7 separate regions of the Homo sapiens genome follow, and regions 1, 3, 4, 5, 6 and 7 are each linked to region 2. Evidence: promoter capture Hi-C in 16 types of primary human blood cells and fetal thymus (Javierre and others, 2016). All regions are on one chromosome and are shown on one strand. The core of a region is centred on a gene start or on the middle of the fragment in contact, and the rest is flanking DNA. Distances in the headings are between cores, read along the strand shown. Region 1 overlaps LY86-AS1 (LY86 antisense RNA 1). Region 2 holds the start of CAGE1 (cancer antigen 1). Region 3 overlaps LY86 (lymphocyte antigen 86). Region 4 overlaps LY86 (lymphocyte antigen 86). Region 5 holds the start of EEF1E1 (eukaryotic translation elongation factor 1 epsilon 1). Region 6 overlaps LOC101928004 (a long non-coding RNA gene). Region 7 overlaps LY86 (lymphocyte antigen 86).

What was found. Contacts are between HindIII fragments. The CHiCAGO score rates a contact against its expected background, and 5 or more counts as called.
Region 1: a fragment that was not itself captured here is called in contact with the fragment with the promoter of CAGE1 in region 2 in 3 of 17 cell types (fetal thymus, non-activated CD4 T cells and naive CD4 T cells); the score reaches 8.0 in fetal thymus.
Region 3: a fragment that was not itself captured here is called in contact with the fragment with the promoter of CAGE1 in region 2 in 6 of 17 cell types (erythroblasts, naive B cells, naive CD4 T cells and 3 more); the score reaches 9.6 in erythroblasts.
Region 4: a contact is called between a fragment that was not itself captured here and the fragment with the promoter of CAGE1 in region 2, in 1 of 17 cell types (monocytes). The highest score is 5.4, in monocytes.
Region 5: a contact is called between the fragment with the promoter of EEF1E1 here and the fragment with the promoter of CAGE1 in region 2, in 1 of 17 cell types (total CD8 T cells). The highest score is 5.6, in total CD8 T cells.
Region 6: a contact is called between a fragment that was not itself captured here and the fragment with the promoter of CAGE1 in region 2, in 3 of 17 cell types (fetal thymus, naive CD4 T cells and non-activated CD4 T cells). The highest score is 7.6, in fetal thymus.
Region 7: a fragment that was not itself captured here is called in contact with the fragment with the promoter of CAGE1 in region 2 in 8 of 17 cell types (naive CD4 T cells, activated CD4 T cells, total B cells and 5 more); the score reaches 10.9 in naive CD4 T cells.

Annotation. Positions count from the first base shown.
Region 1 is chr6:6,579,703-6,582,828 of GRCh38, reverse strand. The region is part of intron 1 of LY86-AS1 (LY86 antisense RNA 1); the gene reads left to right. Among named protein-coding and RNA genes, the nearest start is that of LY86, 7.5 kb to the left of the region's middle. The HindIII fragment of the contact is 289 bases long and covers 1,377-1,665 here.
Region 2 is chr6:7,388,123-7,391,079 of GRCh38, reverse strand. It overlaps CAGE1 (cancer antigen 1), which reads left to right and starts at 1,338. Exons shown (of 14, transcript NM_001170692.2): 1 at 1,338-1,878. It overlaps RIOK1 (RIO kinase 1), which reads right to left and starts at 1,272. Exons shown (of 17, transcript NM_031480.3): 1 at 1,007-1,272. The coding sequence starts at 1,077. RefSeq lists enhancers at 600-1,386, 990-1,409, 1,540-1,589, 1,600-1,659. The HindIII fragment of the contact is 2,322 bases long and covers 1-1,907 here.
Region 3 is chr6:6,652,977-6,655,851 of GRCh38, reverse strand. It overlaps LY86 (lymphocyte antigen 86), which reads right to left. Exons shown (of 5, transcript NM_004271.4): 5 at 870-1,308. The coding sequence ends at 1,225. Among named protein-coding and RNA genes, the nearest start is that of LY86-AS1, 32 kb to the right of the region's middle. RefSeq lists a silencer at 1,805-1,995. The HindIII fragment of the contact is 4,773 bases long and covers 1-2,875 here.
Region 4 is chr6:6,629,739-6,632,586 of GRCh38, reverse strand. All of the region lies in intron 3 of LY86 (lymphocyte antigen 86), which reads right to left. Among named protein-coding and RNA genes, the nearest start is that of LY86-AS1, 8.3 kb to the right of the region's middle. The HindIII fragment of the contact is 532 bases long and covers 1,194-1,725 here.
Region 5 is chr6:8,101,250-8,104,223 of GRCh38, reverse strand. EEF1E1 (eukaryotic translation elongation factor 1 epsilon 1) reads left to right here and starts at 1,676. Exons shown (of 4, transcript NM_004280.5): 1 at 1,676-1,789. The coding sequence starts at 1,703. EEF1E1-BLOC1S5 (EEF1E1-BLOC1S5 readthrough (NMD candidate)) reads left to right here and starts at 1,629. Exons shown (of 7, transcript NR_037618.1): 1 at 1,629-1,789. RefSeq lists silencers at 1,424-1,623, 1,764-1,883, 2,092-2,277. The HindIII fragment of the contact is 8,997 bases long and covers 1-2,974 here.
Region 6 is chr6:6,705,014-6,708,147 of GRCh38, reverse strand. All of the region lies in intron 4 of LOC101928004 (a long non-coding RNA gene), which reads left to right. Among named protein-coding and RNA genes, the nearest start is that of LY86-AS1, 84 kb to the right of the region's middle. The HindIII fragment of the contact is 2,232 bases long and covers 762-2,993 here.
Region 7 is chr6:6,608,159-6,611,334 of GRCh38, reverse strand. All of the region lies in intron 1 of LY86 (lymphocyte antigen 86), which reads right to left. The region is part of intron 1 of LY86-AS1 (LY86 antisense RNA 1); the gene reads left to right. Among named protein-coding and RNA genes, the nearest start is that of LY86-AS1, 13 kb to the left of the region's middle. The HindIII fragment of the contact is 1,073 bases long and covers 845-1,917 here.

The sequences.
Region 1 (3,126 bases), core at 272-2,771, 810 kb after region 2:
AGGATCCCAGGCTCTGGCTTCAGTGTGTCCCTCCAGTTCTGGCTAATTCCAGAATTTCTGGCTGCCATTATGGGATTTGCACTTGGCACATATAATCCAAAGTATTGGAGATCCCATTTTGCTGGACTGGCAGGTGGTATTTGGAATAAAATAATTTACCTATTCTCTGGATCAGACTCTTAGGGATGTTGTTGAGTTCCCTCTCCTGGCAGTGGCCGGCAGATCCACCCAGAATTCTTCTGAAGAGGTCTGATGAGGTCTTGTTCAGAATTCTTCTGAAGATGTCTTCTAATTCCCTGTAGTAGTAAACATCCTAGCAGTAATTTTGACATACAAATAATGGCCTTTGAAGTAGCCTGTGTTTTTTCTTTTTTGGATTGAATAAGAATATCCGAAATGCACTTCTGTTATGTCTCAGGCATTCTTCTAAGTGCATTCCATGTATTCTTTGATCCATTTCATCCTCACAGCAGCCTTACAAGGTAAACACAGCTCTGTCATCCACTCTTTACCCCACCTCCCTGCCCAACCCCTGGCTCTGCAACTCTGAAATAAATTCCAAAGTCTTCCAAGTCTACAGAGGAGGAAATTCTTTTTTTTAAAGGTAGTTCTTTTGGTGGAAAAATCTCATCTAAACTGATGAGACTGTTTATAGTTTTAATTTATCTCAACTGGGTGTATTTCACTATGTTTTGCTGCATACTATTAATGTGATTGATTTGTGGTTAATGGGTACTGTACCAGACTCCGTTAGGAGTGTTATAAAATGTGAACTCTATTACCTTTCTAAAATCAAGAAATTCTGATTTATAAAACACATCTGTACCGAAGGATTTCAGGGAAAGGATTCTGGGCCTGTTGTATGATTCTTGTTCTCCTGATGAGGAAACTGAGGCATAGTGAGTGACGCATCCAAGATCATACACACAGTAGGGCCATTGGAGGTCAGACAGTGAAACTCCCTTCTTCAGTTCTTGACCTCTGAGAAAACGGCCTCTTTCCTACTACGCCCAGTGGTTTGCTTATCTTCCACTGTAGTGATAGCCCACAAGTGATCCCCAAGTGCTTGGAAACTGAGGGGACTTGGACCATGTAGCTTCAAGAAGCAGGTCTCACCCAAGCTTCTGTCTCCCTCAGATGGAGGGAGAGGGGAAAGGCTGAGGGGAGAGGGCTCAAAGGGAATGGCCTTTGTGGTCTTGTAGGCCTGGGCTGCATCTTGTCTCTACTCTGTGGTATCAGTAGGTCACATAAGTTACATTCCCTTAATGTAGGTTAATTTACCTATAAAAAATCAATCATAATAAATGGTAACTTTTATTACTATTTTTATTGTTAGAGGAAACTAGATATCTGGAGGTGCCTTAAAGCTGAAAGCTTCTTTGTCATCTAGTGTGCAGACTCAGCTGGGGCCAGGTCCTCCATAGTGAGGGACTACATGGATGAACCTATGTGATACATAATAGCTTCTCATTAGAAATGTAAAATAGCCACGGAAAACAGGACTCAGTTCAGAAGAGAGAGGCTTGGCAGATGGCTCCTGCAGGAGTCTGATGAGTGGTGCCTTTCCTGTCTCCACTGCACACAGATGAAAACAAAGGGTCAGATGACATCACGGCACGCTGCTTCATAGACACAAATTGAGCTCTCTGCTTTTACTTTGAAGCTTGGATATGTGGGCTGCAATTGTAAGGTTATTGATGAACAAAGCAGGTGTTCAAAGGGTGGAAGGGGAAGCATTTTGTACTTTTCAGACAAAATGGTGCTTCATTGGCTGTGGCCTCTGCTCACCCGGAATTTGTATTATAATGTCCCTGGTCCTGAGCTGTCACTTCTTGCCCAAAAAGCTGGGCTTTCTTTTGTTACTGTTTTTGTTGTTGTTATTTGTTTGTTTTAGAGATAGTCTTGCTCTGTTGCCCAGGCTAAAGTGCAGTGGTGTGATCATAGTTCATTGCAGCCTTGAATTCCTGGGCTCAACTGATCCTCCCGCCTCAGCCTCCCGAGTATGGCACTAAAGGCATGCACCACCATACCTGGCTAATGTTTTATTTTCTAGAGACAATGTCTTGCTGTCTTGCCCAGGTTGGTCTCAAACTCTTGGCTTTAAGCAATCCTCCCCCCTGCCCCGGCTTAACCTCCCAAGTAGCTGGAACTACAGGTGTGAGTCACTGCACTCAATCTTTGTTACCATTTGGAAGTGTAAGATTGGAAACTCCCCATCAAAGTCACTGAAATAGTATTTCCACTTGATATGGTTTGACTGTGTCCCCACTCAAATCTCATCTTAAATTTTCACATGTTGTGGGAGGTAATTGAATCATGGGGGCAGGTCTTTCCCATGTTGTTCTCATGATAGTGAATAAGTTTTACTAGATACAGTTTTATAAGGGGGAGTTTCTGTGCACAAGCTCTCTCTTTGCCTGCTGCCATCCATGTAAGACATGACTTGCTCCTCCTTGCCTTCTGCCATGATTGTGAGGCCTCCCCAGCCATGTGTAACTGTAAATCCATTAAACGTTTTTCCTGTATAAATTATCCAGTCTCAGGTACGTCTTTATTGCAGTATGAAAACAGACTAATACATCATTTCATTCCACGTGTGTGTCACTGCCCTAGATGGGACTTCTCATGGCCTCCTGGGATCCACCATGGCCCCCTTCCAAATCCATTATCCAGTCTACACCCAGAGCTATCCTGTCTGAAGGCGCATCTGCCAAGGGATGCCCTGCCAAAGCCTCTCAGTGCCCCCTGCACGTACCTTTGAGGCCTCGCATGCTTTGGTCTCTTCCCATCCAGCCTCCCTGGCTGTGGGCACTCCAGCCTTGCTGCCTGCTCTCCCCTGCCCTGGCATCTCTAGTGCCTATCCTGGACTGCCCTTCCTTACCCCTTTTTTACCATATTGCCTGCACTTCCTTGAGAGTTCAACTCAGTGCTTGCTTCCTGAAGAAAGATGTTCTGTCAGGGCTGGGGAGCTCCCACTGAACTCGGCTCCTATAGCCCTGTGACCCTGCCTCTGCCTAGCATGGCTCAGGGTCAGTCATTTGATGAAGGTCAGACTCCTGCATAATATGCCAGGGAAGTTTTCTTCCTCCCACTTTCTTCCCATCCTTCCTTCCTTCTCTTCCGTTC
Region 2 (2,957 bases), core at 89-2,588:
GCTTTTAGGCAGGAGTTATCCTTCATCCCTCTTTCCCCAGACTCCACGTCCAGTCTACCACCAAACGCTGCCACTTCTACCTCCAAGACATATCTTTAGGATCTGGGCTCTAGTCCCCACCATCTTTGAATCTGATTACCTTATTATTTTTGAACTGGTCTCTCTGTTCCACTCCCACCCTCCATGAACATCATCTACCTAGAAAGAATGATTCCTTTAAATCACCAAGCAAATAATGTCATTCTTCTGCTAAAATCCCTCCTATGGCTTTCCATAAGACCCACATTAATATCTGAACTTTTCACCATCACTTGTAAAGGTCTCCATGATCTGGCCCCCCTTCTTACTTCTCTATCACCCTACCAATCTTCTCAACTACCTCCACTGTGCTCTAGGCACTCTGGCCTCGGGGCCTTTGCTCTTGCTGTCCCTTCTGTGTGAAATGCTGTTCCCTCTGCTCTTGCCAGGATTAGCTCCTTGTCATTCAAATCTGGACTTAACCTTTCCCTACCCATTCAGTCACCACTTGGTATATCAAACGATTTGCATAGTCTACATCATTATTTGGTTTTTAAATGGTGTGCCCTCTCTTTCACGTAGAAGGTAAAGTTCCATGACAGCAGGAAGTTGGTTCTTCTTGTTACCTCCGGCGCCCAGGACAGAACGTGGTACATATTAAGTGCTTAGTAAGTATTTGTTGAACGCTAAATGTGGTTAAAACGCAAAAACCCATGTTTCCTAATCGCTATCCCCAACTCTGCCTCCCAGTGACGCTAACCGACCTGAGAACCGCAGACTCCCTTGACAAGTAGCTTTCACTTAACTCTGCCGCGTGAACTGGGAGAAAAACCCAGCTGGGATGCAGAAACAGGCAAAGGGTTGTCAAGAGAGACGCTGAGTGATGAACCACTAGTCTCCCTCTAAACCGCAAACAAGAGTCCACACCCCAAGGGGGCGGTCAAGGAGAGAGCCGTACCCAGAGCCAGGGCACTGTACGGCCGCCTACCTGTCAGAGGAGTCCGCGTCGTCGAATTGCCCGGGGACCACCCGGCTCATGAGAAGCCGCCGGTAGTCCATGACTGGAGAGCGCCGCCGGAGGCCGCCGCTCTGCGATGGAAAGGAACGGCTCAGACGGATGTACCCACGGCCGATCCAAAGGCCTTGGCGTGGATATCCGCCTTGCAAACCATTCAGAAGCCAACAGTGGCCACCACGTGCGACGGGAAAACGGGACCGACAGATCCACCACCCTGCCACCCCAACCGGAAGCCCCTCACCGCCTCGCCCGGAAGTCTGACTTGAGCGGAAGTCCCGCCCCTGCGCCGAGCTGGGAGTCCGGAGCTCTCTGGATGGCGCGCTGTATAGGGCTGTGGATGTTCTGTGCTCTCAGGAAGGCGTGTTGAGTAGCCGGCACGGCGAGGCCCGTGCTGGCCGTTTCTTCCCGGAGTTTTCGTTTCTGTACCCCACTTTGTGTTTACTGCGGCAGGAGGCGCCAGCTAGCCCACAGGCTGTTCGGCCTAGGGGGTCGTACCTTCCTAACTTCACCACTCTCTGGGAAGACACCGCACCCACAGTAGGGTCGCTCGGGCCTCGCGGGCTGCACCTGTCTCTGCGGAGTTCCCCCGGCGCGGGCGGACGTCACACAGGGGCGTTCCAGCACTCCGGGAGCCCGATTGCGAGTTTGTGAGAGTCCTTGGTGGAGGAGGTTGGAAAGCGTTCTCCCTCCCACAAAACCCGGTGCAGAGGGAGGGAGAGCCAGGTCCGTAGCGTGGGTCCAAGAAACTATGGATCCTGGAAGTGAGCACACTTTTGTGTCTTAAAAAGTTTGGTGTCTCGTTTTGAGGTGAAAAATGAATGAGATAAGTGCTTTTTAAAAAGGTAAAGTTTGTCTTACAACTGAAAAAGCTTTTAAACAAAACTATAGTTTTTGCGAGTAACTCCCGTGACACCTCTTTTAACTCCTATCTTAAAACAGCTTTAGAATGTCTCTGGAACATCTATTCAAACATTTGATAAATATGTTAAAAATCCAACATAAACCTGTAAGGACAAATGAAAGATGGAAAAAATAGTCTAACTTTAAATTAAAAAGGTAAACTGGCAGATTGTGCAGTGCCACATGAGGGATGAACAAAGTTGTAGAAATGTAATTGGAAGTGCTGGGTTCACAAACAAGAAAACTAAGAAACAAGGCCTTTGCGCTTTTTTGCATTGGGAAAACAAAGCAAGAATTTTTCAGATCTCACCACAATCCAGGCAGCATTATTTGAAAGACAAGGGAGAAGTGAGCATAAAGTTGGGCCTTTCACTGATCCTGACTGGTCTGCTTGGCTTACTTTTTTATATTTTACCAAGTGATGACATAGGTTTGAAAACAACTAATTTTCAATAAACTATTCATTCAGAAATTCAATAAAAGAATCCAGGCAGATGAGTAATGACTATAAATTGAAAGAGCTTGATAGAAATAAGTCATTGGAATGCAGGTTTTATTCAATCAATATTTGCTGTGTAGACAGCACTGGTCCATTTGCAGTAGGGGATATTGGAAAGCCCTAAGTATGCTCCTCTCAAGACATTTATGATCTGTAAACACAAACACTAACACCCTTGAAACAGTGGTGAAGCTCTAAAACAGTAAACGAAATCACCAAGTGCTGAATTGTAAGATAGAGATTTAGAGACTGAAGACATTGTAGGAATTTTGAAAATAGATGAATGGGTAGATGGGAAGGTTTTAGGAGAGAAGCACGTGCCAGGGCAGATGACTGAAGCTTAATTCGTAAGGAACATTATCTGTCTGCAGGGAAATGAGCCTGATCTGAGTAGAGCAGGGGAGTACCGGGTAGGGGATGTCACTCCAGGCTATGGATGGCCTGGAAGGACAAAAATTTATAGAATCAATGTGAGTGGCCATCCTTTCCACTCTCAGCTCTGGAGCTCTGGACAGGCCTGAG
Region 3 (2,875 bases), core at 108-2,607, 740 kb after region 2:
TCAGAGGTTTGCTCCTGAGCCTAGTATGACCACGCACGTCTTTTCCCTCGAGCATTATGGGCCTAGGCAAGGACGCTGCTGCAATTTTGCCTGCTCATAACCCAGAAAACCTCAGATGCTGGTTTTAAAGTTTGACAGGCATTTTTGACCTGCTATTCTAGGTGGTTTACTGATGTATAAACAGTGATTAATAGCAACTACTGTTTTTTAAACTATGGAATTTTTTTCTCTTTTAATCTCTAATATAGTGGCATTTTTATGAATGATAGTGTCAACTCACCCACCTTACTCCAGCCCCTTAGCAGGAGCAAGAGGGCCAGCAGGGACACTGGAAGGACAGGGGCGTCGGATGGTGAAGGGGCTATGCAGCCCACCATGCGATCAGTGCATCCCAGGAGAGAAGACGGGGCCGCAGAAATGGCTCTGGAAGTAGCATGGGCAACATGCTCATTTACGGAGAGCATCGTAGAAGACAACTTAAGAACACAGCACCTGATACACATTAAGTGTTCAGGAGTTATTCCTTGCATTCATTAATGAATGCAGTAATGAACGCCAGCATATGCTGAGGTCAAGTGTAATCATGCTTTGAGGGATGAAGGTGAAATGAATGTTTGGATAAGCGAGAGTATGATGTCCCTATTCGTGAGGTTGCATCAGCTTCTCGGCCCTCATGGTCCAAGGGTGGGGGCCTGCCCAGGAGAAGCAATGGCACATTTTCCCAGTGTTCTAATTTTAGCCAGGCTGTCACCCTCCTGAATTTCTTGGAACTGCTTATGCTGCACCAGCATCCGGCACTGTATCTGGAGGAAATGACTTTTTAACTACAGCATTGTAGTAAGATTCTTTGAACAAACCACAATGAACAATGGTGGCCAGCTTTCTTTATTCTTGGTAACTGTGAGGAAGCACTCCTAAAAAGTTGAAAAGCAGGTGAGTCTGGTGGGAGGCGACCAATTAGAGAAAAAGGATGGACCCTCAAGACTGCTTAAGGACTGCCAAGAGGCTCCTTAGAAACAGATACATTCGGGGACTTCATTACATCTGTGGAGTCTGGGGATGTCTGGTCCTGGGACTAAAATTAGCAGCTGCACTCTTTGGGGGCGCTTCTTTGTAGAGCCTCTCTCTGTCATCAGCTGCTTCTCCTCCCACAGTAGGTTCAGTCAGAGGAGCTTGGAGGTCCCACGAGATGCAGCTGGCTGTGATTTTTGCTACAGGCCACAGTCAGGAGCACATGATAGTAGCATTGGCACAGGCCACGGTGGACCGTTTTTCAGTGTACAGTTCCAGCAAAACCTGGTATTCTCCCTGCAAGGGGCACAGGTCAAGTATTAGACGTGTGACCCACAGTACAATTAACCATTTAACAAATATTTACAGAGAAACTTTTATGTGCTGGGTGCTGTTCTGGACATTGTGGATAACGTAGAACAAGACAAGCCAACCCCTGCCCTGTGGAGCTGACAGCATCTCTGGGAGAGACAGACCACCCTTATGATATGTGACTATGTATGGTGTGTCAGGTGCTCATGTCATGGAGAAAACTCATGCAGGAAGGGAGTGGATGGAAGCACTGGATGGGTCAAGGCAAGTGCTGGTCTGCAATTTTGAGCAGGGTGGTGAAAGGAGGCCCTGCTGAGACGACGACATTTAGGCAAAGACCTGAAGCAGATGCAAGAAGGTGCAGTGCTGCTATGGGCTGGGGCCCCCACCTTAGAGGGGCAGAAGGAGGCCAGTGGGGCTGCAGGGAGTGGGGGGATGGGGGGGGTGAGGTAAGGGCAACACAGGAGGCCAGACTCTTAGGGCCTCAAAGGCCATGGTGGGGACATCAGCTTCCACTCTGAAAGGGACTCTGGTCAGGAGAGGGTGGCCTGCCCTGGCGCCTGTGTCGGTAAGATCCCTCTGGCTGCCTCACTGAAAAGCCCAGATGGGAGGCGATTGCAGGAATCCAGGTGAGAGATGAAGATGACTTGGAGTAGAGGTGGAGGTGGGGGAAGGCTTTGGGTGCCAGAGAGATTTTGAAAGAACAGCCAATAGGATCCGCTGAGGAAACGCAAGTGGGTGGGAGAGAAAGAAATGGGTTAAAGGTGACTCCAAGGCTCCTGGCCTGAGCAACTGGAAGGAGAAAGGTTTGTATGCTCAGACAGAGAAGACCCCGGGGAGCACAGTTCACCAGCACAAAACCAAAATGCACCATCACAGAAAGAATGGCTGCCTTTGGGGATCCTTGCTGGCAGCAACACTGTAAGGAGGTCTCCCTTCCTTTGCAGTCAGCTTGGCAGAAGCCACCTGGCAGCCAGGTCCTATGAGGACTGTAGAAGAGCCATTCTGGTTTTGTTTGCTGCCAGCACCCCAGTCCTGCACCCCAGCAGCCACGGAGCGGTGATGTGTTTGTAGACACGAATCTGGAGAGGAAAATGCTCTGGGGTGGTTGGAGGGTCGCAAGCGGAGCAGAGGGACTGTGGCAGAGGAGGCCAGGAGACTGCTGGCACATCTTTGAACTGCCTGTCACCCAAAGGAGGAAAGAGTTTAATCTGTATAAAGCAAGAGGGAAGGAGTAGGTGAGACCACCGGAGAGAAGCTGCATGAAAGGTGGCTTTTGTTAGAAGGGAGCAACTTTCTAGCAATGAGCAGAGCTTCCAAAGAGAGTGGAGTCCCCAACACTGAAATTGTATTCAAGAGAACCAGGCTGTGCTCTGGATGGTGCCTTGGGTGTGATTCCATGATTCTAGACGCTCCCATGAGTCACACTCCTCAAATATTGAGCAGCTGTAATTTTAGAAATAGTGTTAGGAATATAACCAAAGCAGTCCAAATGTTAGAGAATTAATTATGAGTAAAGACCGGCTCAAATTTATATCTCGTTGTGTTTCAT
Region 4 (2,848 bases), core at 210-2,709, 760 kb after region 2:
GGTGAACCAGTTTGAGTCCTCTGGCCTGTTTCTATGACAGACCCACCAGAGTTTATCAATCAGCCCTGCAGTTTTCACAAAATGCTCCAACCCTCTGCCTCAAGGTCCCTCGGGTAGGGGAGGAAGCCCAGGGACTCAGTGCTGTGATTTCTAACGCGTCAGACACATCACATATCTTATTTAGTCTCCACTCTTACCCAATAATGAATTATGGCCACTCTCATTTGATAGATGCAGTAATTGAGAAATAGAGAAATGTAATGGCCCTCCAGACTGTCCATGGCAGCTGTGGGGAGGGAAGGAGACCTCCAGGCCTGCTCTCTGGCTTTTTCCTAAGGTGCTCTTCCTCCTGCCAGCTGCCACTCTGACCAGCCTATCTGTTAAGTCCCTTTTGCCCCAAATCTAATTTTTTGGCACAGGTCTTATAAAGCAGAGTCAAAGCACAGGTGTGGCATTGTCCTTGGTGTCCTGGATCTGAATTTATGCTGCAGCTCAGGTCAAGTGTCCACCTGGTGACAGCCCCCGCATACCTGTGCTCAGTAACTCTGGCTAAGAGCCCTGGATTCTGACTTACCTTCTAGCAGTGGTTCACAAAAGTTAACATGCCACAGAACCACTTAGAGCAGGACTGATCAGTCAAAAGAAGAATAATACTTCACCACATGTAAGAATTAAATGAAATTTAAATTTCAGTGTCCATAAATTAAACAAAGCCAAATCAATTATAAAATACATGCAGCAGATATAGACATACCTCACTTCATGTAATCTGGGCACACAGCCATGTCCACTCATTTTCATATTATCTCTGCAAGGGAAGGGTTGAGCAATTGCCACAGAGACCATATGGTCTGCAAAACCTAAAATGTTTACTATCCTTCCCTTTCCAGAAGAAAGTTTGCCAACACATGGCCCAAAAGGCTTGTTAAAATACAGATCACTAAGCCCCAACCCCAGAGCTTCTGATTCAGTACGTCTGGGTAGGGACCAAGAATCTGCCATTTCTAATAATTTCCTAGATGATGCTGATGTTGCTGGTCTGAGGACCACACTTTGAGAACCACTGCCTTATAATAATGGCTGGTTATGCCCAAAGATGATCCTTTGATTTCTATAATTTTGTTATGCCCTTTAAATCTTTTTCCGGTCTTAGTGGAGGGCTGAAATGAGTTTACTTCTTCTCTAGCAAAGCTTTCTTTATGTTTACAGAAGATATACAGCAGAGGGGTTTGGAGCTGGACAGAAACCCAGTTCCACCCCCCGCTGGCTTTGTGACCTTGGGTAAGTTAGACTCAATTTCCTCATCTGATAAGATGAGGGTGTATGTAGGAAAAAACAGTTTTTTCCTCCCATATTCTCAACACAGAGCACTTCTGGTCACCACCTGGCTTGGCTCTCACTCCTAGAGATTCTGATATCATTGGTCTGGGGTATGGCCTGGATGTTGGGAGCTTCAAAATTATAAAGGGAGATAATAATGCAGCGCTGCCAGTAAAAACATTAAAGAGAGTCACACATATAATTTTATGTTTTCTAGGAGCCACATTTTAAAAGTTGAAATTAATTTTAATATAATATTAATATCTTATCATTGATAAATGATTAAAATAATATATTAATGATAAATTCTACTTAACTCAGTATATTCCAAATATTAACATTTCAACACATAACCAGTGGAACAATGATAGAGATATTTTACATTCTTTTTCTAAGACTAAAGCTTTGAAACTGAGTCTGTACTTTACACTTACAGCACATCTCTATTCAGACTGGCTACATTTCAGGGCTCAGTCGCGACCTGTGGCTTGTGGTCATTGCTTCAGAAAGCACAGGAGCAGTTAATGTGCGACCAAGATGGAGACCCACTGGGGTAACGGCGCGCTTGGTGTTTGCAGACCAGACCAAAGCTCCCGGATCACACAGGGGTTCTATCGGCATTGTTGTTCTTGAGGATTGAGGGAGTTGGCTGCAGCTTCCCTCCTTTGGGCTAGGAATTAGTTGTGGTCATTAAGGACATTCAATGAAGCTCAATTTAGTCTTAAAAGTGGATGTGTAGCTTATGGAACCTGTTTGAAAGCATGGCAATCAACTAAAGCAAATACATCTGAATGACTCGATACTATCAGAGGAGACAGAAGGACCAAGGCAGCTTTAACAGAGAAGAAAGTAAAACAGTGGCCAATGTTGTCTCCTTCTCAGTGAGCCCACAGCCTGAGTAAATGGGGCTGTGGGTATCCCAGGCAAGAGGATGGCTGTTAGATCATCCCTTGATATTCTACGCAACTCTTTGATTCAGAACTTTCTATTCGAGTCCAAATATCGCTGGATATTACATAGGCTGTAATTCTCTTTGAAAACTCTTAAATTTATTCCCAGGGGAAGAGAATTTATTCTCTCTATTCTTTCCTGTAATGATAAAGTAACACTTAAAAGAGTAACCTTGCAAATTTATCATAAAAGCAAGCGAGATTTCCAAAAAAGACAAAAATAAAGATCTGCAGAGATAAGTACTCTTAGCACTAAAGTGTGTACTCTTTCAGAGTTTTTTTGTGTATACACTTACACACATTTTATACAATAGGATTCAACAGTGACTACACTTTTATAGCATGCTTCTTTGTCACATAATATTCTTACAAGTATATTTTCATGTAATTTAGTAATCTACGGCATCATTTTAAAATCACAGCATACTGTACCTTTGTTTGGCTGAATAATGACCTACTTAGTCAATGCCCTATCGTTGGCCATATACGCTATTTCCTCCACATTGTCAATCACAGCATAAGTAATCATACTGAAAGAGCATCAGCTGGTCTTTGAATCCAATGTGATGCTTGCCTTA
Region 5 (2,974 bases), core at 427-2,926, 710 kb before region 2:
ATTCAGGACCAGAAAGTTTTGATTTAACCTCATCTACCTTACAACTCCTCTTTTGGGCAACACCAAACACCCAACTTTCCAGCAACACCACATGATTGCATCTTTGCTTTATTCCACAGTACATATACAGCACCATACCAATGCTGACACTGCCAAGATGCTAACCAAACCAACAAACAAAAAGAACCAAAAACAGGTTTTCATGAATTTTGTCCTTAAAGCATATCTTACTAAGAGTATACAATTAAATGACTGTGCTATAAAGTCACTTAAAAGAGGTCCACACTGGGTGATGATGTCATCAATTTGATGTACAATATGCTTTGTTCTGCTTTCAGTTTTTTAGGGATTTCTTTTTTAATTTGATATTTCTATAATTATGCAAAGGCCAAACCTTATTTTCAATATACCACCCATTGGCATTGGATAAATGTTAATTTTTTTAAAAAATGTTTTATTACAAGCAAAAAGTGTACCTAAACCCTGAAAATGGATATGTGAATTATCTTAGAGGGTTGGTCTTTTAAAAAGTAGTAGAATAGTCATTCCATTATCTGAATATGGAAAGTAAAACAGATAATTTAGTGCCTAACAATCCACTTATACTGAAATTTCTTTTGTATTTTGTTATGTTGATTTGGCAAAAGTTTCTTTTCCTTATGTTTACTTCTGCTGACAGAGTAAACTCATTAAGTATTCTGGGATAGGGAAGGTGTAACACAGTAACAACATTCCCCACTAAACTTTGATATTTCTGATTCAATGATGAGTTACCTTGTAGGATTGTTCTATTTCTCTCAGACTAATACACACTTTGTTTATTCATTCTTCAAAGTGGAAAATATTTTGTATTTTCACAAATCTTTTGGAAATATTCAACATATACTACTAATTTTCTTTCTTTCTTCCTTTCTTTCTTTTTTGAAGATACAAGAATGTAGCAAGTTAGTGGGGCAAAGTTATGCACCTTGTTTATTTATATACCAAAACTTCATAAATTATGTAACCAGCCTTCTGGTACTGCAAAAAAAGATCATTAATGCCATTAATGGCTTATTTCCTTGAGCTGTAATTATTTGACCCCTATCTGACATACTCCGTGTTCTGTGAATAATCTTTAAATGTATAATTCTACTGCTAGTGTTGAGCTGTAGATCAACAGTAGAAAAACCAGTTTTTCGAATTCACCACTACAACACAATTAAAATCCTCATGAATTATGCTACACGTTAGAAACTCCTAATGGACTGTGAACTTTTTGCTATTCAATTTGATTGTTCAAATTTACAGATTCCTGAACCAAACTAAGGCAAATTTCAGTTCCCATCATATATAAATTCTCTTAGACTAGCAAATGAGTTAACGAGTTACCGCTGGCAGCCATGTCAATAGATTGCCATTTAGAGATCCAGATCCAGTCTACTGCAGCCACCGAAGCCCGGCCTTGGGGCCTTTCTACCAGTAACTAGCTCCCCAACAGTTCGAGTGGAAATTTACCATCACTTCTCCACCTGTCTCACACCCCGCCCTCAGCCCCGCCCCTTCCACCGGCCCCGCCTCCTGTGCTTTGGCGCGCGCTCTCCACGCCCCTTCCGTTCAGCCAATCGCCGCTGAAGTTTGCAGGAGTGGGACTTCTGTTTCCACCAATGCGGGAGGTTCTTGTTCTGCAGGTCTCGCGTCTGCCAGGAGCTACGGCCGGAAGATGGCGGCGGCCGCAGAGTTGTCGCTACTGGAGAAGTCCCTGGGACTGAGTAAGGGGAATAAATACAGTGCTCAGGGCGAGCGACAGGTGAGAAGGAGAGGCGGCGCGGAGGGGAAGAGGTGGACGGGAGCGGGGCCTGCCGAGCCCTGGCAGGACCCGGGCCGGCCACCAGATACGGGCGGAGTGAGGATGCTGCTACCCAGCTCCCCACGTGTCTGCGCCGCTAGCCGGCTGGCGCCTCTGGGCCTCGGCCCCTGCCATCCTACCTCCTGGAGGGAGGGGTTAACCAGCTCAGGTTGGGCTTGGCCTGAACTTCACCTCCTGGGAAATTGTCATCATCCCATTATGAGGAAACAAAACCAGTTGGAGGAGGGTCCTCACAGGGCTCTTAGACCAACCTGGAATGTATTCAGTAACTGGCTTTTTTTTTTTTCCCGTAATCGCACCTTTCATTCAGTTATTGCGCAGCGACTCCGTTATAGCTAACAGGGTGCCAGGTAGCACCGTGCTGGGTCTGGGGAATACAATGATGATTTAGGGGAACATGCTTCCTCCTCTCAGGCAGCTTGCTTTTTGGCCAGGTGGACAAACATTGCAACCATTTAAATTGGAAGAGTGCCACGTTGCACCATAAATGGCAGAGAGAACACCTAAGGAGTCTTGGCCCAATCTAGGGGATTCGGGGAAGGCGTTTCTAAAGCCTTGGATTATCAGTTTAAGTGTTACGACCCACAGTGAATGCGGGAAACATCACAAGGTATGAGATTGCCTGGTTAGGCACTGTTAGAACGTTTGTGTTTTATAGTTGTTTGTCGTAGAAGGAATGTATTAGAGAAGGAAATTGGTTGTAGGAAGACTACTTTGGATATATGTTTTTTTTGCTCCTTTGAGATTTTTTCCAAATGATGTTTGGTTTTTGTCTTTAATTTTTTCTCTTCTTCATTTGGTCCATGTGAAGATCTTGTCTAGAAAGTAGTAGTATAGTTTTTATTTAAGTTAACCTGAAGCCTAGAAAGGTTAAGTGTTCAGCCTAAGATCAGCCCTGTGATTGGTGGCAGAGTAGGCGTTGGAGCCAAAGTGGCCTTCTTTTGGTGTTTCCTCTGCCCCAGTGATAATTCCGTCCCTTCGGCCCCTACTCCCTAGCTTAGTGTATATATTATATAATATATATGTAGTATAAATATAATATATATGGCCGAGTGGACAAACATTGCAACCGTTTAAATTGGAAGAGTGCCATATATATATATATATATATATATATATATATAT
Region 6 (3,134 bases), core at 628-3,127, 680 kb after region 2:
GGCACTGGCTGTTGAGGAATGCCCTGGATTCAGTTTTCCAATTTATTTGTCTATAAAGCCCTAATGTGAACAATTTTTTGCTTGCTGAGTATTTTCAATGACAACCAAATAATCGAGTTTCCCGTAGATCAGTGACTCTTAACCGGGGCATCTTGCCCCTCAGGGGACAATTGGCAATGTCCAAAGAAGACATTTTTGATTGTCACAAGTGGAGGGGAGGAGATGCTACCAGTGCCTCGTGGGTGGAGGCCAGCGATGCTGCTACACATCTTGCAGTGCATAGGATGGTCCCCACATCAAAGAATGATCCCACCAAAAATGTCAGCAGTGTCAAGGCATAGAAACGCTGATCAAGACAATGACCCTTTCCAGTCTTATTTAATAAATAAAAAGAACTCAACCAGTTTTCTTTGGTGATGGAGGATGGTTCTTACAGCAGTGTCCTTCCTTTAAATTGTATGAGCTGTAGTGTAGAAATAGAAATGAAACAGTTATCTTTTTGTCTAGTTTTTGGACAAAAAATTGGTCCAGAACACACCATGAAGGATGATTCTGGGAAATCAGATATTGCAGATGAAAGAGAACTTGGCTGGGGACAAGCTCTGGGTTCTAGCTCTGGTTCTAATGCCAACTTGCTGGGTGTCTGGGACTGTCACTCTCATCTAGGGGTGGAACTAAAGCACCTTCAGACCTCTGCTGCCTCTAACAGTTTCTTCTAGAACAAGTCCATGCATGAGTCAGTTGAGAGAGTTGCTAAAGCTTAACAGAATATAAAGGAATAAGGAAGAAGAAACCACTCCACCTCTGCCCTTCCACTTTCGTCGGCAGGGTACGTCCACCCATAGCATGGGCTCCCTGTGTGACCCACTTCCCTGCTTCCGCATGGGCTTGAGGGAGGAGGAGGCCTGGCATGCCGGAAGGCTGGCCAGGGGTGAGGTCCGTGCTTGGGGACTGGTGATGTGAGAATGGGCTAAGCAGTGAAGAACTCTGTGGCATCTGTTTTTAAAATGGAGTCCAGGGGTGAGCAGTGGCTTATGAATGTTCTCAAGAAAGAAATGATGACTAGCCTTGGACATTTTGATGTTGCTCTTTGAAAAGATCCATATTCTCTTTTGGGATGAATTATAGTTCACTTGTGATATTTCTTTTAAATATATTTTTTAATCTTTAAAATTATTTTTATTTTTATTATTTTTTAGAGATGATTCCTTGCTCTGTTGCCCAGATGGGAGTGCAGTGGGCACCATTATAGCTCACTGCAGTCTCGAACTCCTGGGCTCAAGTGTTCCTCCCACCACAATTTCCCAAATAGCTCGGACTACGAGTGTGACTTACAATATTTCTTATTACACAGGAAGCTGAATTTTTTTCTTTAACTTGCAAGAAGTCTGTGGCATTTTTTAAATTTATTTTTGTCTTCACAAACAAGTAGAGTAAGTGATTTAAAAAGGTATACACGTGAAATCTTTTTCATAGGTTATCCATATTACATGGTAAGCAAGTTAAACATATAAAAGGCTGTACAGAGAAAAAAGGAGTCCTCCTCCCAGCTCGGGGGTAGTTGATCTTTGTTTTCTTATCACTATGGTCTTGGAGGGCAGAAGTTGGAGAGTTGAAGCCATAGTGAAGCATCACCAAACTAAGAAGGCTCAGGTCTTGGGACAGCTCCATGCACAGGCTGAATGGGACGGCTGCCAGGAAGATAATATTCTGTTCTGGATGTACATTTCCAGGGCCAGTAAGTGACTGCACACACCTGAGGCAGTTGACCTTCTGCTCTGTCGATGAAAGAAGAGGGGACAAAAATCAAGGGACAGGAACAAGGCAAGAAATTGAGGCTTTTGGAGTTATAGGCTGGAATTGTGCTGAATTTTCTTCTGAAATAGTTCACTAAGGTGTATTAGCCAACCACTTATGTCTTTCCTTCTATGTCATTTTCTTTTTTTTTTTTTTTTTTTTTTTTTTGTTATGGAGTTTTGCTCTTGTCCAGACTGGAGTGCAGTGGCGCAATCTTGGCTCACTGTGACCTCCGCCTCCTGAGTTCAAGTGATTCTCCTGCCTCAGCTCCTGAGTAGCTGGGATTACAGGCGTGCACCACCACGCCCGGCTAACTTTTGTATTTTTTGGGAGAGACGGGGTTTCACCGCGTTGGCCAGGCTGGTCTCGAACTCCTGACGTTAGGTGATCTGCCCACCTTAGCCTCCCAAAGTGCTGGGATTATAAGCATGAGCCACCATACCCAACCTATGTCATCATTTTCAGTGGAAGTAGTTGTCTAATACGAGGAAGTAACACGTGTTCAAAAGAATAGAGTAGGGTTGCTTGATCTTCTGTGTTTTCTTAGAGCTCTATTTTCTTTGTGTTCAGAGCAAGTTCTGATTTGGACAAAAAGCATGGCCTCTTAGGGCTGTCAGTGCTGCCACTTACTTGGTTGTGGGCTTAATGTGCTGGCTTTGAGTCTGTCTCACTGACTCCCATGCTTCGTGGGTCCCTGGAATTCTGTGCTTATGGGGATCCCCAACATGACCTGCACATAGGACAGCAGGAAAGGAGGACATATATACTGCGTACATCTCCTCTGCTCACATGCATCTCCACTGTCCCCATAGGATTTCACTCGTAAAACACAAGTTCACAGATAAGACTAAGGATGTTAAGACGGTGATGGTAGAGCACTAAGCCAAGTGTGGGTCCTTCTAAGCACAAGGCCTTGTGCAGCATGACAGGTTGGTCACCATGAAGTGGTCTCTGCCGATGTGGTTATGAAACCAGGAGGGCTGAGGGATCTTGAAACATGGGATGAGCTGCCTAAGGCCAAAACCAATGTTCTGAGGATGGTAGAGCCCAGAGCTTGAAGGAATTTATGTTCCTGACAACAACACTGAACCACTGGTTTTAATCTCCTTGGAACTTGCTTGGACTTCTTATCTGAGATTAGAATATCCTTGTTTTTAAAGGTGGTTTGAGCTGAGTGTCACTTGCAGGTGAAAGCTTTGTGACGTACACCAGAGGACATCTTGTCCCTAATGAGTGAATGCCATAATACTTTACCTTTATTTTCCTTACTAGGCTCCATCTCCGTAGCCTGCTTTTGACAAAAGTGGATACATAAATCTAGGGGCCACCTAGCTAGT
Region 7 (3,176 bases), core at 132-2,631, 780 kb after region 2:
AAAACCTTGTACTGGGCTGGAGTAGGAGCCTATGTTATGTAGGCTCTTTTCTACCAACTCAGGCACAGAGAATAATATATACAAAAAAACTCAAGTCCCAAAGACTGTGTATTCTGGGAACTTCACGTTTGTCAACAAAAGCTCTTCATAAAATCAAGTCAGTTGTGCTTTTGTGACCTTCATTTTGAATCATATAAATGCAAACAGTCCAGCTTGTTTCTTTGAAAGGCTGGAGGTCGGAGGTGGCTGGTGTTTGCTCAGACACGGCCAGATCTTAACGGTCCTAGAATCACCCCTGGAAGGACAGTGGAAAAACAAGATAATTTTCTTTTCCTCTATTGCTTAAAGTGGTATCAGAAAGGTAGACTTCTGTCTTCTTCCTATATATTTTCAAAGAAGGAGCCTTCCTTGGCAAAATACAAATTTCTGTGGCTGCTGGGGTCAGAAAGAGTTTCCACCGTCATCACAGGCCTTCATCTTGCAGGTAAGCTCAGACATGCTCACCTTCTTACTGACTTTGCTGAACATCGCTCATGTTGTGGAATAGAATTTCTACACCATTTGTGCTCATAGTGTGACATCAAAACCAGTATGTCCTTTGCAGCCCTTAAATACACACATGAGAATGCACACACACACCCCACAAAACAAAACCCCAGCCCTCCCTCGCTTTGGCCTTCTAGCTTGACCATTTTAGGGCAGACTGTCTTGGTATGTTCCTAGGGACAGAAGCTTCCATGTAACTCAGGCAGTAAATCAGGGCATCAGCTAGCACTCACCTTGCCCCCCCCTAAGCTTCCGTTTCTTCACTTGTAAAAGGAGGAACTGAGCACTATTTTAAGCTTCATGCTTCCTTCCTGTACCAGGCTTCTCAGATGCCCCAGAGGCCAGGGCAGTGGAGCCCAGACTCTGGGGGCTCAGGGCCTGCACTGTGGGTCATAAAGGCAGAGGGAGATGCGTAGCCTCAGGCTCAAGAGCTTCAGGCCATTTTTTTAAAATAAAATCTTTTTATCTTGAAATAATGATAGACATAGGAAGCTACACAAAGAGTACAGAGGTGCCCTGTGTACTTTCACCCACTTCCCTTCATGGTAACATCTTACAGAACCACGTATCAAAACCTAGTCATTGACACTGGTGTACTCTACAGACTGTACTCAGGTTTTAGCGGTTTTCACACGCACGCACGTGTTCGCTCTTGTAGTTCTATGCAGGGTTACTGCGTATAAGCACCACCATACAGATCCTGGCTGGGCGTGGTGGCTCATGTGTGTAATTCCAACACTTTGGGAGGCCTGGGCAGGAGGATCGCTGGAGCCCAGGAGTTCACGACCAGCCTGAGCAACATAGACCCTGTTTCTACAAAAATAGAGGCCAGCACCCTTCCTTGCCAGTGCAAACGTTTCTTGCAATGTTCAGGGCCCTGTAGCCAATCTTGGCCATACACAGAGGCCTACAGAACAAGCACGAATTCTTTTTTTTTTTTTAAATTTTAATGGACACACAATAATTATCCATGTTTATGGGTTTGCTTCCTAAATGCTTTCTAGTATGAGAGCAACTTAGCTTATTTTTCTCCCTGGCCTTCCTACATGTGCTAATGAATTGTCCGTGGCTGCCTCCAATCCCCCAGCAGACCAACAGGAGGAAAAAAATCAATTTGCACTTTTCCTAGGAAGCAATCCTGTTGGCAGAGCTGACTCATAAACAGCCTCCTTTTCTGTGTTAGCATGTTGCTGAGAGGCCAGCGTGACAGTGCTTCTGAATGTGGCCACCTGGATTTAAGGTGGAGTAGTGCCTCAACTGAGAGGCCCTTGAAGGAAGAGAAAGTGTGTAAGGAAGTGCATAGAGAATAAGAGATCCAGTATCTCCAGGGTGTGGAATCCCAGGCTTCCTTCCTAAAGATACCGTGAAGCTTTCCCAAGAAAGCAGAGTGGATACCCAGTGGGAGTTCCCACCCGTATGTCTTGAACTGGAACCAGGGAAGTCAAATTCTTCATTCCCAAAGCCAATTCGCCATTTCTTTCTGCATCTCTTATGTCAATGAGATGAAGCCAGGGTGGGTCTGCTGGATGCTCCAACTCTGCAATAGAGCTCTCCTGGACAGGAAGGAGGGAGGTGTTTCTATGGGAAATCTGAACTTGCTTGTACTTTCTCTTCATTTCACATAGACCATCCGGGAATAGGATCCCGGGGCCATGAACAATAAAAGATTACAAGCTCTTACAGGTGGATGCTGGAGGGGAAAAGCAGAGCTGCGGTTGGCTTGGTCTCTCTGCCAGCAAAATACATTCCTAACCAAGGAAAGGACTCATTTCTCTGCCTCCAGAATCAACACACCCTAGCATTCCCTTCCTGATTAGGGGAATAAAAAATACTTTTGCTAAAGATATAAAAAGAATTATATTGAAAGATAGCAAGCTGCCATGAAAAATAAGACAGGAAATTGGATTTCGGATGAATAAAGGAGAAGAGTTCACCCGTTGAACAATCACAGCCGTCCTTCCCCCGCAGACCTGCACACAAGTTAAACACCACGTGTGAGTTTCTTCTGCTTCACAGCAAAGTTTAAAGAAGGCCTGGCTCAACGCTATGCCCTTCTCTGTAACACCATTGCTGTAACCGTTTGGATATTGTTCAGCCTTTTTTTGCCATCTGTTCATGTGTCTTCAGAACATTTAAAAACTGTTAGTGTGCATGGAAACATTACTGGACAAAACTGATACAACTAGAGCAATTAGTCTAAATACTTTTGCCCAGGCTTAAGCTGCTGAAAACTGGAGAAAGAAAAAAAGGACTGGGCCGGTAAACATTTTCTGACACAGGAGACATAAATAACGGATATTCACAACAGTTTGTAATTGCAAAAAAGTGGAAACAACCTAAATTTTTATCAAAAGGAGGAGGGACACAATTGTAGTCGATACGTATAATGATGTACTCTACCTCCATGAAAATGAATTAAGTAACGCGATGCATGCTAGCTATCTCTTGAAATAATGTAATAAATTAGTCCCCAAATAAATTGCTAATTCAACTTTCATTAGTTCCAGTAATTTGTAGATTAGGTTTTTCTGCGTAGACAAAGTCATATTATATGCACATAATAGTATTTTTGTTTGCTCCTTTCAAATCCTTTAACATTTTCTTTTTCTTGTCTTACTACACTGGTGAGG